Regions from separate parts of the Homo sapiens genome. Here region 1 is linked to region 2. Evidence: promoter capture Hi-C in 16 types of primary human blood cells and fetal thymus (Javierre and others, 2016). All regions are on one chromosome and are shown on one strand. The core of a region is centred on a gene start or on the middle of the fragment in contact, and the rest is flanking DNA. Distances in the headings are between cores, read along the strand shown.

What was found. Contacts are between HindIII fragments. The CHiCAGO score rates a contact against its expected background, and 5 or more counts as called.
Region 1: a contact is called between a fragment that was not itself captured here and the fragment with the promoter of MYOZ1 in region 2, in 2 of 17 cell types (naive CD8 T cells and fetal thymus). The highest score is 5.4, in naive CD8 T cells.

The regions. Positions count from the first base shown.
Region 1 is chr10:73,355,876-73,362,866 of GRCh38, forward strand. It overlaps CFAP70 (cilia and flagella associated protein 70), which reads right to left and starts at 2,989. Exons shown (of 28, transcript NM_001367801.1): 1 at 2,903-2,989. RefSeq lists enhancers at 2,132-2,657, 2,594-2,813, 2,658-3,183. The HindIII fragment of the contact is 242 bases long and covers 1,982-2,223 here.
Region 2 is chr10:73,638,027-73,644,627 of GRCh38, forward strand. MYOZ1 (myozenin 1) reads right to left here and starts at 3,448. Exons shown (of 6, transcript NM_021245.4): 1 at 3,385-3,448; 2 at 1,919-2,009. The coding sequence starts at 1,991. RefSeq lists an enhancer at 6,072-6,121. The HindIII fragment of the contact is 20,057 bases long and covers 1-6,601 here.

The DNA of each region.
Region 1 (6,991 bases), core at 853-3,352, 280 kb before region 2:
GTGGAAAAATTGTCTTCCACGAAACTGGTCCCTGGTGCCAAAAAGGTTGGGGACTGCTGCCATACACTGTTCACAGTGTTCTCTGGTAACCGTTTTTTTTAATCTGCAAAGCTCCCTTCAAACATTATTTAACTTCTCAGTTTTACAAAAATATATTTTGAGAGCAGGAAAGAAGCAGCCACACAAAATGGTAGTCCACTGGAAAAGGTCTTAATGTATTTCTTATTTAGTCAGATATACTGTCAATTTTACAATACTAAGGGCACAAACAATTTCGATAATAAATTGGATATTTGTTTTTTGGAAAAGGTCTTTTATCTCTCCTTCCTTCCTTTTTTTTTTTTTCAGGCTCTCATTCTGTCACCCAGGCTGGAGTGCAGTGGTGTGATCACAGCTCACTGCAGCTTCAACCTCCCAGGCTCAAGTGATTGTCCCACCTCAGCCTCCTGAGTAGCTGGGACTACAGGCATGCGCCACCACGCCCAGCTAATTTTTGTATTTTTTGTAGAGACAGGGTTTCACCATGCTGTCTAGGCTGGTCTCGACGGCTAGGCTCAAGCAATCCACTCACCTCAGCCTCCCAAAGTGCTGGGATTAAAAGGCATGAGCCACTGTGCCTGTTGAAAAGGCCTTATTTTCTAACTCAATTCAAACATTTACTGAGGACATACTATGCTAAGTGTACTTGGTGATACAAAAGAGAAAACAACATCTTACAGCCTTCAGACTTTATAATTATCCTGCCTCTTCTCAGCTACTCCAGCATTTTTCCAGTCACCTAAAAGTGTCAAATCATTTGTTCAACAACATATTTCTGGGCTCTTTAAGGGCTTTAGTGGCACTGACAACTTCTTTGTCAAATGTACATTTGAAATGCCCTTTTGTATCAGTCTTCTTTCCTTTTCAATAATATGGCATTAGGCCTTCATTACCCTTCTGCTAGACTGTAACAAAAGCCTCCTAACTGGTGTCTCTGACTCCAGTTTCTCACTCTAATTCATCCTGCTTTTGTCAGAATTGCTCATTGAAAAAACTTGTTAAGCTTGGCACTGTGATGGGTGCTGAGGATACAAGAGATAAGATGTGAACTCTCTAACCTCAAGAAATTTAAAATCTAGTGAGGACGAGAGACGTGTAACTAGACCAGGAGTCATAATCTGTGAGACAGGTGCTCTGACAGAGGAAAGAAGGGAGGAGTGAAACACACAGGGAGGAAAAGGGGGGTGGAAATTTATTTTTTCTTTTACAAATAAAAAGAATGAGAGAAGCAAGGAAATTAACTGATTATAGCCAGTGTGCCAAGTGTGCTTCGCATTTATTATCTTAAATGTAGCCTCCCTTCTAAGAGATTCTTAAATCTCTATTTGATTGAAAAAAATTGAGCTTCAGAGAAGTTTGTTATCTTACCAGCAGTCATACAGCAAGGAAGTGCTGAATGAAGCTGGGACCTAGCTGGATTTGAGAATACATATGCATGCCAGGAAAATCTTGGAGGAAGTACGCTGGAACTATGTCTTAATAAAGGGAAGGATATTCCAAGAAAGGGAACAGATTTTAAAACGTTCAGAGGCAAAACAACACACATAGCAAGTAGCAAGTAGCTTGCAGTGGTGGAGTAAGAAGAAATAGGGAGAAAATGAGAAGAGACAAGCAGATAAATACCTTATTAAAGTACAGATCTGATCGTATCACTGTCTTGTTCCCTCTCACCTACCAAATAAACTGTAACACTACAGTTTAACTGTAGTTAAATGTAGTACTACATTCAGGGCTTTCTAGGATCTTGCAGTGCCAGTCAACTCCCCTCTTCTAGCTTATGCTCTTGCTTAGTATTTTTCAAAGATTACCTGCATTTAGTCGCTTTTGAACCTTTGCATTTTTCCTTCCCCCTGGAATTATCTCTCCCTTTCTCCTCACTCCGTCTCTACAGCAAATCCTACTCATCCTTTAAAATCCAGCTCAAATGCTTCCTAGTCCATGAAGCTTCCCAGTCGGAAAAACTTGCCTTTCCTCTGAATTCATTTAGCACTTTACACGTCTTTTGTGGCATTACCACAAGCTGTCCTGTTTATGAAGACTGGGTATTCAAAAGACCTTTCCTACTTAACAACTATGTGCCCCTAGGCAAATGCCTAACTTCTCTAAGCCTCAGTTTCACCTTCTGTAAAATGGATAACTTCCAACCTGTTTCACATTTATTGTGAATATCCCCTAAGATATTAAAGCTTTTTAAGTATGAAGCACTGCACAAATGGTATTATTAATATGCAGCGTTTGTCCTGAGAGCTCATTTACACCCTTGAAGGCATGTAACCTGTCTCACGCATATTTACGGGCCCAGAGTGCCTGGCACCATGTCTTGTACACAACAGGCGTTCGCGTCGTGTTTGAATTATGAATGCAAGATATAGGACTAAAGTTATAGTCAGGGCAGCTAGGGTGGGGACTCTTGTTGCCCCCGGCAAGGCACGCATTTCTTGTCATCTGCTCGGAAGAAGCTGCAAGGGGAGAGTCCAGTGAGAAAAAGGTTAGACGAAGGAGGCGATGTGACTGAGTCTGGTCTGGGGACAAGCGCAGTCAGCGCAGAATGAGGAGGCCTCCGACGAGAAGCGGTAAAGGAAGGTCTACGTCCGCGCTCCTGTGGAGGTCGCCGGGCTGGGGTTGGCGGCAGAGTCCGCACCTGGCCGGGCCAGCGGCTTTTCGGTCTAAATATCGGGGTTTTCAGCCTGGCCTTAGCTAAGGGAGCAGAAGATCGGGGTGACGGCTGTGGTGTGGCCGCAGGGCTGAGGTGGGGAGGCCGGGAAGAGAGAGTTTCTTCAGGAGGGATCACTGTCTTACCTGCAGCAGCCTCAGTTATGTTTTTGACAACTATAGCAACCAACTACCTCTCGCGAGAACTTACTTTTGGCCATCGCACGAGCAAGTTTATTCCAAGACTCGCGATAACCCTCTGGGGCCGGGAGCAGGGAGCGAGACGCTGAGCTTCTGCGCCTGCGCCCTAGCGCCGGCTGCAGCCTCCTCACTTCGAGAGCCTGCTGTTTCCGCGGATGCTTTACCTTGCCAAGAGTTGGGTTTAAGTGCATAGGTTTCCACCTTTACATTTTGCTTTCTCGACTCTTTGATTTCAATATTTCTCTATAATAGGAGGGAAAAAAGCAAAAGGAAGTTTAAAGAAAAAGGCCTTTATTAAACTGATTTGAAAACATCATTTAAATATTTCTCCGTGAAATATGCAATATTTTTTAAATGAGCCCGTCACGCCCTGTTGATGAGAGTGCAAAATGACCCTGCTTCTAGGTGCTCAATATTTGTACAATAAACAGACCTGAAGTTTATGATGTTAATACAAATTTTTAATATTCAAAATTTAACATTAAAGAGCTAGAATAGCAAAACACAATAGCAATAACCTGGAAACAACCCAAGTGCCCGTCGAAGGAATAGTGGATGAGTGGACCAATAAACTGTGGCATATTCACAAAATGGCATATTACAAGCAGTCAAAGTTAATGAACTGCAGCCATACACACAACACGGATGAATTTTAGCAGTATATATACTTTAAATTGTTGCAGTGTTAAGAGCCAGCTTGAAGGGACTCCCATGGGCCAAATAAGGGACAATTTGAGCATGAAGTAAACAACGACGATAACGGATTACAACCCATTGAATAAAATAGGAATATGCAAGTCCGTGTTGATACAGAGAAAAAGGAAAACTCTTTCAAAGTAGGATGCCAACCCAGAAGTGTAGCGAGAAGGATGGAAATAGAGAACTACCATTTGACAACTACTGAGGAGGATGACTCAGGCAGGAGTCTTCAATGGACGCTAAGGCTGGTGGGTAGATGTTCTATGAGGCATAGAATACTGGCGTGATTTTGGAATGCTTCCATGGAATACTACTTGATTACAGAGGGGGAAACAGTGAATGGACGCAACCAACATGATCAGGTGATCATGGTTAACATCACCAGTGTTGGGAGGAGTCTACATTGTGAGCCTCCTGGTGAAACACACTAAAAAAAAACACACACACACACACAAAGCATCCTTTTTGGTTTTCCTACCATGAAAGGAACTCAGGTTGTAGACCATCCAAGGACAAGAAAGACTGGGAACTGTCTCTGACTGAGGTTATATGACAACTAAATTCAATATGTATCTCTGTATAGCATTCTGGACCAGAAAGGAAAACAACATTGTTAGGACGGTGGGAAAAATGTGAATTAGCTCTGTGAATCGCATACCACCCCGAACATGCCCAATCTCATCTGAATTGGATGGTAGTGTTGTACCAATATTGATTTCCTGATGTGGAAGTTTGTTTGTTGTTAGGTAGGAGAGTGTCCCTGTTTAGGGGAAAATAAACACTAGTGTGTTTAGGAGTGATGAGACACCATCTCTTCAATTTGCTCTCTTGACTTTCAAAAGGTCCAGAAAAAGACTAACAAGGGATACATACACATGTACACACACATATGCACATGCATGCACACCTGCACACATACACACACAGTGAGCAATGGAACAAGTGCAATAAAGTGTTAACTATTTGGGAATCTGAGTGCAGGGGACATGGGACTTCCTTACACGATTTGGGCAACTTTTCTATACATTCGAGATCATTTCAAAACAATTAAAATATATACACACGCATAACCACTCTCCCTGGGAAGCCCTTTGCTTAGGAAATAGTTACCAGAGTCAAATTTTAAAATTTTTATTTATATGAATAAAGAAACATTATAAATATTGAGAAATATTTTTTGAAAGTTGCAGTGTTACAGGTAATAAAGGTTCTCAAAATAAAACTACTGTGGCACTACTGAGTAAGGATTTCTCTCTGGATTTTTTTTCCCAAGTGAGAGTTTTGGGTGAATTTGCACTGAGACAGCTATCCCACTTGCAAATGACAGACTCTTTCTACATAATAAGCTGGGTTAGGCCAAGTCTTTAATAGGGAGCTGTTCTTCCAGAAATCGCTCATGATCTTGGTCTACTTAGTACTTTGCTTCAAGGTCTTAGGCAAGCAAGGATAAATAACAGATGTCACCTCCTTAAACATAATTAATCTCCATTCAACTTTAGGGTACCTGAGAGCAAGGGCTGTATGTTACAATTTTCTTTTTTTTTTTTTTTAAGATGGAGTCTCACTCTGTAGCCCAGGCTGGAGTGCCGTGGCGCAATCTGGGTTCACTGCAACCTCCACCTCCTGTGGTCAAGTGATTCTTGTGCCTCAGCCACTGGAGTAGATGTGATTACAGGCACCCATCACCACGCCCGGCTAATTTTTGTATTTTTAGTAGAGACAGGGCCATGTTGGCCAGGCTGGTCTTGAACTCCTAACCTCAGGTGATCCACCTGTCTCAGCCGCCTAAAGTGCTGGGATTACAGGCATGAACCACCATGCCCGGCCTTTTTTTTTTTTTTTTTTTCTTTATTGAGACAGTCTTGCTCTGGAGTTCAGTGGCATGATATGATCTCGGCTCACTGCAACCTCTGCCTCCCGGGTTCAAGTGACCCTCCCACCTCAGCCTCCCGTGTGTGTGTGTGTTACAGTTCTTTTATTCTCCTACAGTGCTTAGCAGTGGCCACTCTGTTTGAAAGGCATTCTTTTTGACTGATTTAAAACATCCACTTGTGTATGGAAAAAGCCCTCTTTAGTGGTATGGAAAATATAATAGTACTGGAATCATAATAAAATCATCTACATATGCAAACCAATTTCAGGGAAAAAAACTATAAAAATATCTTTCTAATAAAATTTGAATGCCTTAGTCTGAGTTTCAAAGGCCTCCATTAAATGATGCACTAGCTCAACAAATTCCTTTCTCATTACTCCAAAAGACTTGTTTCTAATTAGCTAATTTGTTACTTCCAAAGTCAACATATTTCTGACAATAATACAATCAAATGTATTGCTCATCCCCAAATTGATCTACAGATTGAAAGCAATCACTATGAAAACCCCAACTGTTTTTTTTTTCTTTCAGAAATTAACAAGCTGATCTTAAAATTCATATGGAAATGCAAGGGACCCAGAGTAGCCAAAACAATCCTGAAACAGAAGAACAGTTGGAAAACTCACACTTCCCAATTTCAAAACTTTCTACAAAGCTGCAGTAATCAAGTAACGAAGACAGTAATAAAGACATAAAGATAGCCATATAGATCAAAATAATCAATTGAATTGAGAGTTCAGAAATAAACTCTTACATTTACGGTCAACTGATTTTTAACAAGAGTGCCAAGATGATCTACTGGGATGTGGGAGGGAGGGGGTAATATAGTCTTTTAAACAAATGGTACAAGGAAAAACAATGTCCACATGCAAAGAATGAAGTTGGACCCTTACCTCACACCATATACAAAAAATAACTCAAAATGGACCAAAGACCTAAATGTAAGAACTAAAACTATAAATTTGAGGGTTTTCTATTTCTGTGAAGAATGTCATTGCAATATTGATAGAGATTGTGTTGAATCTGTGGAGCACTTTGGGAAGTATGAACATTTTAATAATGTTAATTATTCTAATCCATGAACATAGGATACTATTTGTGTCTTCAGTTTCTTTCATCAATGTTTTGTAGTTTTCATTGTAGAGATCTTTTGCCTACTTGGTTAAAACTTCCTAGGGTTTTTGTTTTGTTTTTTGTAGCAATTGTGAATGGGATTGCTGTTTTCTTTTTCAGATAGTTCACTATTGGCATATAGAAATGCTACTGATTTTTGTATGTTGCTTTTGTATCCTGCAACTTTACTGAATTTATTACTTCTAGCAGTTTTTTGGTGGAATCTTTAGGGTTTTGTGTGTATAAATTCATGTCATCTGCAGACAGGAAGTTTGACTTCTTTCTTTCCAATTTAGATGCCCTTTGTTTCTTTCTCTTGCATAATTACTGTGGCTAGGACTTCCAGTACTATGTTGACTAGAAGTAGTGAAAGTGGCTATCCTTGTCTTGTTCCAGATTTTAGAGAAAAAGCTT
Region 2 (6,601 bases), core at 2,198-4,697:
GCAGAGGTCATTTAGGGGAACAAATGCTGTCTAGTTTGTGAGGGATTTTGATTTCCTGGGACTTGGAGAGAATGCATGGGAACTGGGGTGCACTGTGGAGATAATGGGAATACTAGAGTGGAGAGGCCAATGGGGTAAAAGAGGTACGGGCATGGGGTACAGAGCAAAAGGAGTAAAGGAACATCATAGATGGAGGCCATTGGAGAAACCATGGCATCAGGAAAAACCCAGAGGCCAATCTTGTGTGGAGTCCAAATACAGATGCCATATATATATATATATATATATTTGTTTTTATTTTTTATTCTTTTTTTTCATTTTTTTGAGACAGAGTCCTGCTCTATCATCCAGGCTGGAGTGGAATGGCGCGATCTCAGCTCACTGCAGCCTCCGCCTCCCAGGTTCAAGCAATTCTCCTGCCTCAGCCTCCCAGGTCGCTGGGATTGCAGGCCTGCACCACCATCCCTGGCTGATTTTTATATTTTTTGGTAGGGATGGGGTTTCACCATGTTGGCCAGGCTGGTCGCAAACTCCTGAGCTCAACTGACCTACCAGCCACGGCCTCCCAAAATGCTGGGATGACAGGCGTGAGCCGTGGCGCCCAGCCTACATTTTATTTATTTATTTATTTATTTATTTATTTATTTATTTATTTATTGAGTCAGAGACTTGCTCTGTCTCCCAGGCTGAAGTGCAATGGCGCGATTGCAGCTCACTGCAACCTCCATCTCCTGGGTTCAAGTGATTCTCCTCCCTCAGTCTCCCAAGTAGCCGGGATTACAGGCACCCGGCACCATGCCCAGTTAATTTTTCTATTTTTGTAGAGACAGGGTTTCACCATGTTGGCCGGGCTGGTCTTGAACTTCTGACCTCAGATGATTGGCCCACCTCAGCCTCCCAAAGTGCTGGGATTACAGGCATGAGCCACCACGCCTGGACTTTTTTTTTTTTTTTTTTTTTAATGGAAATGAGGTCTCATTATGTTGTCCAGGCTGGTCTTGAACTCCTGGGCTCAAGTGGTCCTCTCACCTCAGCCTCCCAAAGTGCTGCGATTACAGGTATGAGACACAGCCCCAGCCCTATTTGTATTATTTATTTTGAGACAAAATAAATATATCTTAGGATGAACTCTGTCACCCAGGCTGGAGGGTAGCGTCGCAATCATGGCTCACGGCAGCCTCCACCTCCCGGGTTCAAGCGATCGTCCCACCTCAGCCTCTGGAGTAGCTGGGACTCTAGGCACATGCCACTACACCTGGCTAATTTTTGTACTTTTTGTAGAGACGAGGTTTTACCATGTGCCTAGGCCAGTCTCAAACCCCTGAGTTCAAGCGATCCACCAGCCTTGGCCTCCCAAAGTTCTGGGATTACAGGCGTGAGCCACTGCACCTGGCCCAGACTTCTGTCTTAACTACTTTCCCTTTTCTTTCCCTCAGTGAGCTCTGGCTCCAAAGAGTCTCTAGGTATTGAAGAGCTCTTCACATGCATGCACCCCTGCCCACCCCCAGGAAACATGCCTGTGCAGTTTTCCATTTTAAGTACTTACACAAGCTCCCTAGCTCTGGGGAAAGAAGTAAGGGAAATTAACCACTTATTGAGACCTGAGTCTGTGCCAGTCTCCATTATATTTTCTTCCTCAAATATACCTCACTGACTCATGGGTCCTGTGGTCCTGGACCTGTGCAGGTAACATGGCAGGGTATTGTCTCAGATTATGAAGTGAAAAGGGTAGAAGGTGTTGAATCTTTTCTCTCTTTCTCCTTACCCTTCTTAATCTTCCCTCTCCCACTCCCCATCACCCGCCTTCCCACCACTTAATTTCTCTTGTTTGTTCACCCTAAGATATATATTTCTGGGACTCTTGGTTTAGGGATGCTCTTAAGAAGTCCCACACTAGGGAGATGCAAACATGTCCTACCTCCAGTGAGTTCCATGATCAGCTTGCTGGATTTCCTCTTCTTATTAGGGGCCGGGGTTCCTGAGAGCGGCATTGTGGAGGTGGATTCAGCCTGGACAGGGTGGGAAGGAGGAGTTGGTGGATGGACAGGGACTGGGAAGAGTGAGTGTCTGTAGGAGAGCAGCACTTCTTAACCTGGGTTTAAGGGCTTGAGGGGACAAAAAAATTTTTTTTTCTTTTTTAGAGACAGGATCTCACTCTGTCGCCCAGGCTGGAGTGCAATGGCACAATCATGCCTCACTGCAGCCTCAACCTCCCTGGGCTCAGGTGATCCTCCAACTTCAGCCTCCCAAGTAGCTGGGACTATAGGTGCGCACCACCGTGCCTGGCTAATTTTTGTATTTTTTGTAGAAATGTGGTTTTGCCATGTTGCCCAGGCTGGTCTCAAACTCCTGGGCTCAAGCAGTCCTCCTGCCTCCCAAAGTGCTGAGATTACAGGGGTGAGCCACTTCACCTGACCCAGATTTTCAAAGAAGCATGTATTTCCCCAAAAGGTGAAAACTTGCGCTTTAGGGCTTCTCTTTTCTTGGGATACAGGACAGGAAGTATAGATGCACACCAGCCCCTGTTGTCTACCAACCTGTTGTGAGCTGTTTTTCATAGAGTCAGTGCAGGAATTAGGAACATAGCTAGGTGTGGGGAGTGTTTAAAAAACAATAACACAAGCAGGGCAATGCACCCAGGTTTCATTGGCTTGGCATGATTTGAAGTTTTTATTTGCACTGGGATATCAGACTGGGGCTGTGATTCCAGGCTCTGGTCTCTCCTCAGTCTTCCCCCAGTCCCCAGGAGGACAGAGAAATATTCTGCCAGGGTTGAGGAGATTCAGCCAAAAACACTCTCCATAGGAAGGAGAGGTTGTTGCTCCTTCATCAGGCCAGCTGGAACATGGCCTGGGAAGTCATGGCCCTGCTCCTGCAATCACTCCCGCCACAGACCCCAGAGTGGAGGCAGGTGTGGAACTGGGAAGGGTAGGGAGCATTCAAATCCCGACACGTCAATTCAGCAATATCATAGCAGTGGGGAATTGAGGTGGGGCAGAAACATAGTAATAGGATCTGGCAATGGAAAGGGACAAACTGGGATAAGATGGACTCCAATCCCTTCTTAAGAGAAGTTGGCACTCAGTGAAATGCTGTCCTCTTCTAAGTCCTGTCTCAAAAAATACATCTGCAACTCTACTGACTTAGTGGGGTCTCCCTTCCCATTCTTCCAGTGCCTCCCCCGACATCTCCATTCCCCCCAACCTCCTGGGCCCCTCTCCTTCCAACTCTCCTTCCCCTCTCCTTCCAACTGGACAGCTGGGAGCTGAGCATAGATGAGGAGAGGGGAGACTCCCCCAGGATCAAGAATCACAATTGTAGACACAGACACAGAAGTCAACACAGTGGGCTCCAGCCTTTCTAACGATAGAGCTGGAGACTTACCGGCTGCTCGGGCAGTGGTCAGCTCTCCCTGGGGTCCAGCAGCTTTGGAGGACTGAGCTGCTGTGACCGGAGAACACGAGCTGGGCAGGCGTGGGGGCAGCACTGGCAGTGGGGGAGGGAAGTTGGTTATTAATAGAGATGATGAGCGCAAGCAGCTCAAATGGCACAGGGGGTACTGAGACCCTGGAACCAAGATCCCTCCCTCCTTGCCCGGAGGCTCAGGAAGGAGGGAAAAGGCCTTTGGGATTCTCCCACTGAACTGTCTGAGCCAGGGATCAGTCTGCCCAGGGACTCCCCTTCACATTGCACCTAGAGCCTGAGATCCAAAGAAGCACTTAGGGAGAAACTGAAGACTGAGAGGGAGACAGGAAGTAGACAGCAAGTATTGGATAGGAATTCAGTCAGAGAGAGAGAGTCTGGGGAACATGCCCTGAGGGCCACACAGAGCCAATCCAGGGCAGAGTGGAGAGACCTGTGGGTGTATTTGGAGCAGGGAGGGCTTAAAGTGCTATATTTGGGGACAAAAAGGGAAGTCTTCACAGTGGAACTGCTCTTTTAAAGTTCCTGGATAGGTTGGTCTTTTCTCGGTAAGGGCTAGATCTTGGCAGGTTAAGGGACCAAATTAACTAAACCCAGTACCTCCTACAAAGGAATGATGTGGGGAAGACTTGACAATTATTCTGTCTGCCTCACTCCCTATTCTTTCCTCTTGAGCTCTGGCAGTTTTAATAAAAGACAAACACTTGGATCTGCATTTTTTTTTTTTTTTTTTTGAGATGGAGTTTCGCTCTTTTTGCCCAGGCTGGAGTGCAGTGGTGCGATCTCGGCTCACTGCAACCTCCACCTCCTGGGTTCAAGCAATTCTCCTGCCTCAGCCTACTGAGTAGCTGGGATTACAGGTGTCCACCACCATGCCCGGCTAATTGTTGTATTTTTAGTAGAGACGGGGTTTCACCACGTTGGCCAGGCTGGTCTCAAACTCCTGACCTCAGGTGATCCACCCACATTGGCCTCGCAAAATGTTGGAATTACAGGCGTGAGCCACCGCCAGGATCTGGTCTCTAAGGAGTTATTCTCTAGCCACCACGCCCAGCCAGGATCTGCCTTTTAACCTCCATTTGCTGTTGAGATGCTCAGTTCAACCTGCTGTGCGGGATAGACATCGATGTCTCCCTGAGAAGCACATATAGGCTCTCTGAGGTTTCTTTTCTTCTTCTTTTTTTTTTTTTTTTTTGAGACGGAGTCTCGCTCTGTTGCCCAGGCTGGAGTGCAGTGGCGCAATCTCGGCTCACTGCAAGCTCCACCTCCCAGGTTCACGCCATTCTCCTGCCTCAGCCTCCCGAGTAGCTGGGACTACAGGCGCCCACCAACACGCCCGGCTAAATTTTTTTTTGTATTTTTAGTAGAGATGGGGTTTCACCGTGTTAGCCAGGATAGTCTCGATCTCCTGACCTCGTGATCCATCCATCTCAGCCTCCCGAAGTGCTGGGATTACAGGCTCTCTGAGGTTTCTACTTGAGATTTCCTGCAAAGGGAGCACATACCACATAGGATCTGGACTGTGCCATTTGTACTGTTCCAGCGGAGTCTCTGGGCAGGGCCACAGGCTTGAAAGCCCCTTTGGGGAAAGCCTATCATTTCCCCAGGCCCTTCTTCAGTAGCTGCATGATCTTCCTCCACCTTCTGCTTAGATTCTGGAACCAGTTGCTGCAGCACTTCTGCTGCAGCCACCACAACCCTGTTGCTGCTACCTGAGGAAGTGGCTTTATTTATTTATTTATTTATTTGAGACAGGGTCTCACTCTGTTGCCTGTGCTGAAGTGCAGTGGCACAATTTTGGCTCACTGCAACCTCAGCCTCCCCAGGCTCAGGTAATCCTTCGACCTCAGCCTCCCAGGTAGCTAGGGCTGCTGGTACATGCCACCACGCCCAGCTAATTTTCATATGTTTTGTAGAGACAGGGTTTCACTATGTTTCCCAGGCTGGTCTCAAACACCTGGGCTCAAGCAATCCTCCTGTCTTAGCCTCCCAAAGTGCTAGGATTATAGGCGTGAGCCACTGTGCCTAGCTGGCTTTTTAAAAAATTATTTCTTTCTTTATTTTAGAGATGGGGGTCTCACTATGTTGCCCAGGCTGGACTTGAACACCTGGGCACAAGTGATCCTCCTACCTCAGCCTCTGAGTAGCTGGGACTACAGGCACGCACCAGGAAGTGGCTTTTGTAACTTCCTTTGTCCCCTTCTGAGCTCTTTACTCTTCCTGACCATGTCCTTTTTCCATCCTGTGGAGACCCTAAAAGGTATCCCCTCACAGTTGGCTTCTGCCCAGGCTAGTTATGCCTCCAGACCCCTCATCTTTTGTCCTCCTCCATCCCCTCCCAACCCAAGGAAGCAATTAGAAGATAAAATAGGCCGGGCGTGGTGGCTCATGCCTGTAATCACAGCACTTTGGGAGGCCGAGGTGGGTGGATCACTTGAGGTCAGGAGTTCAAGACCAGCCTGGCCAACATGGTGAAACCCAGTCTCTACTAAAAATACAAAAACTAGTCAGGCATGGCGGTGCGTGCCTGTAATCCCAGCTACTTGGGAGGCTGAGGCAGGAGAATCACTTGAACCCAGGAGGCAGAGGTTGCAGTGAGCTGAGATCGCACCACTGCACTCCAGCCTGAGCCACAGAGGGAGACTCCATCTCAAAAAAAAAGAAGAACTATAAATAGCTAAAGGTGACTTCATCATCACTACCACCCTCACCCTCAAAAACAAAAACAAACTGAAAGTTTGATCTCCTTCAACTGAGTACCCAAAACGACTGAGTGGGTGAAGACAGGCTATTTAACCTATGGTCTCTGAGATCTTTTTTTGGAATTCTAAGACAGTGCACTTGGAAGAGTCTGCGGCCTGGGTCTGATTATTGGCACAAATGTGCCCTCTGCTGGCAGAATCAGAGCAATGGCACTTTCCTTCTCTGAAGTCTAATTCTCACCTACCTCCAACGCCCTCCCTTCTTTAGTAGTCTCAATTCAGCTTTATTCTTCCCTCTCCCATCCCACCTTCCCCTCCAGCCCTCCAGCCATTGCTTTCTCTTCATTTACTTCCCAGAGACTGTTTAATATGGTTGCTTCCTCTAAGGAGCGAGGAAATGTTGATAGCAAAGGGCTCAGAGGGCCTTTCCAACTTCTCTGAGTTCTGTGAACTGAAGCCTTACCTAGAAAGTATGA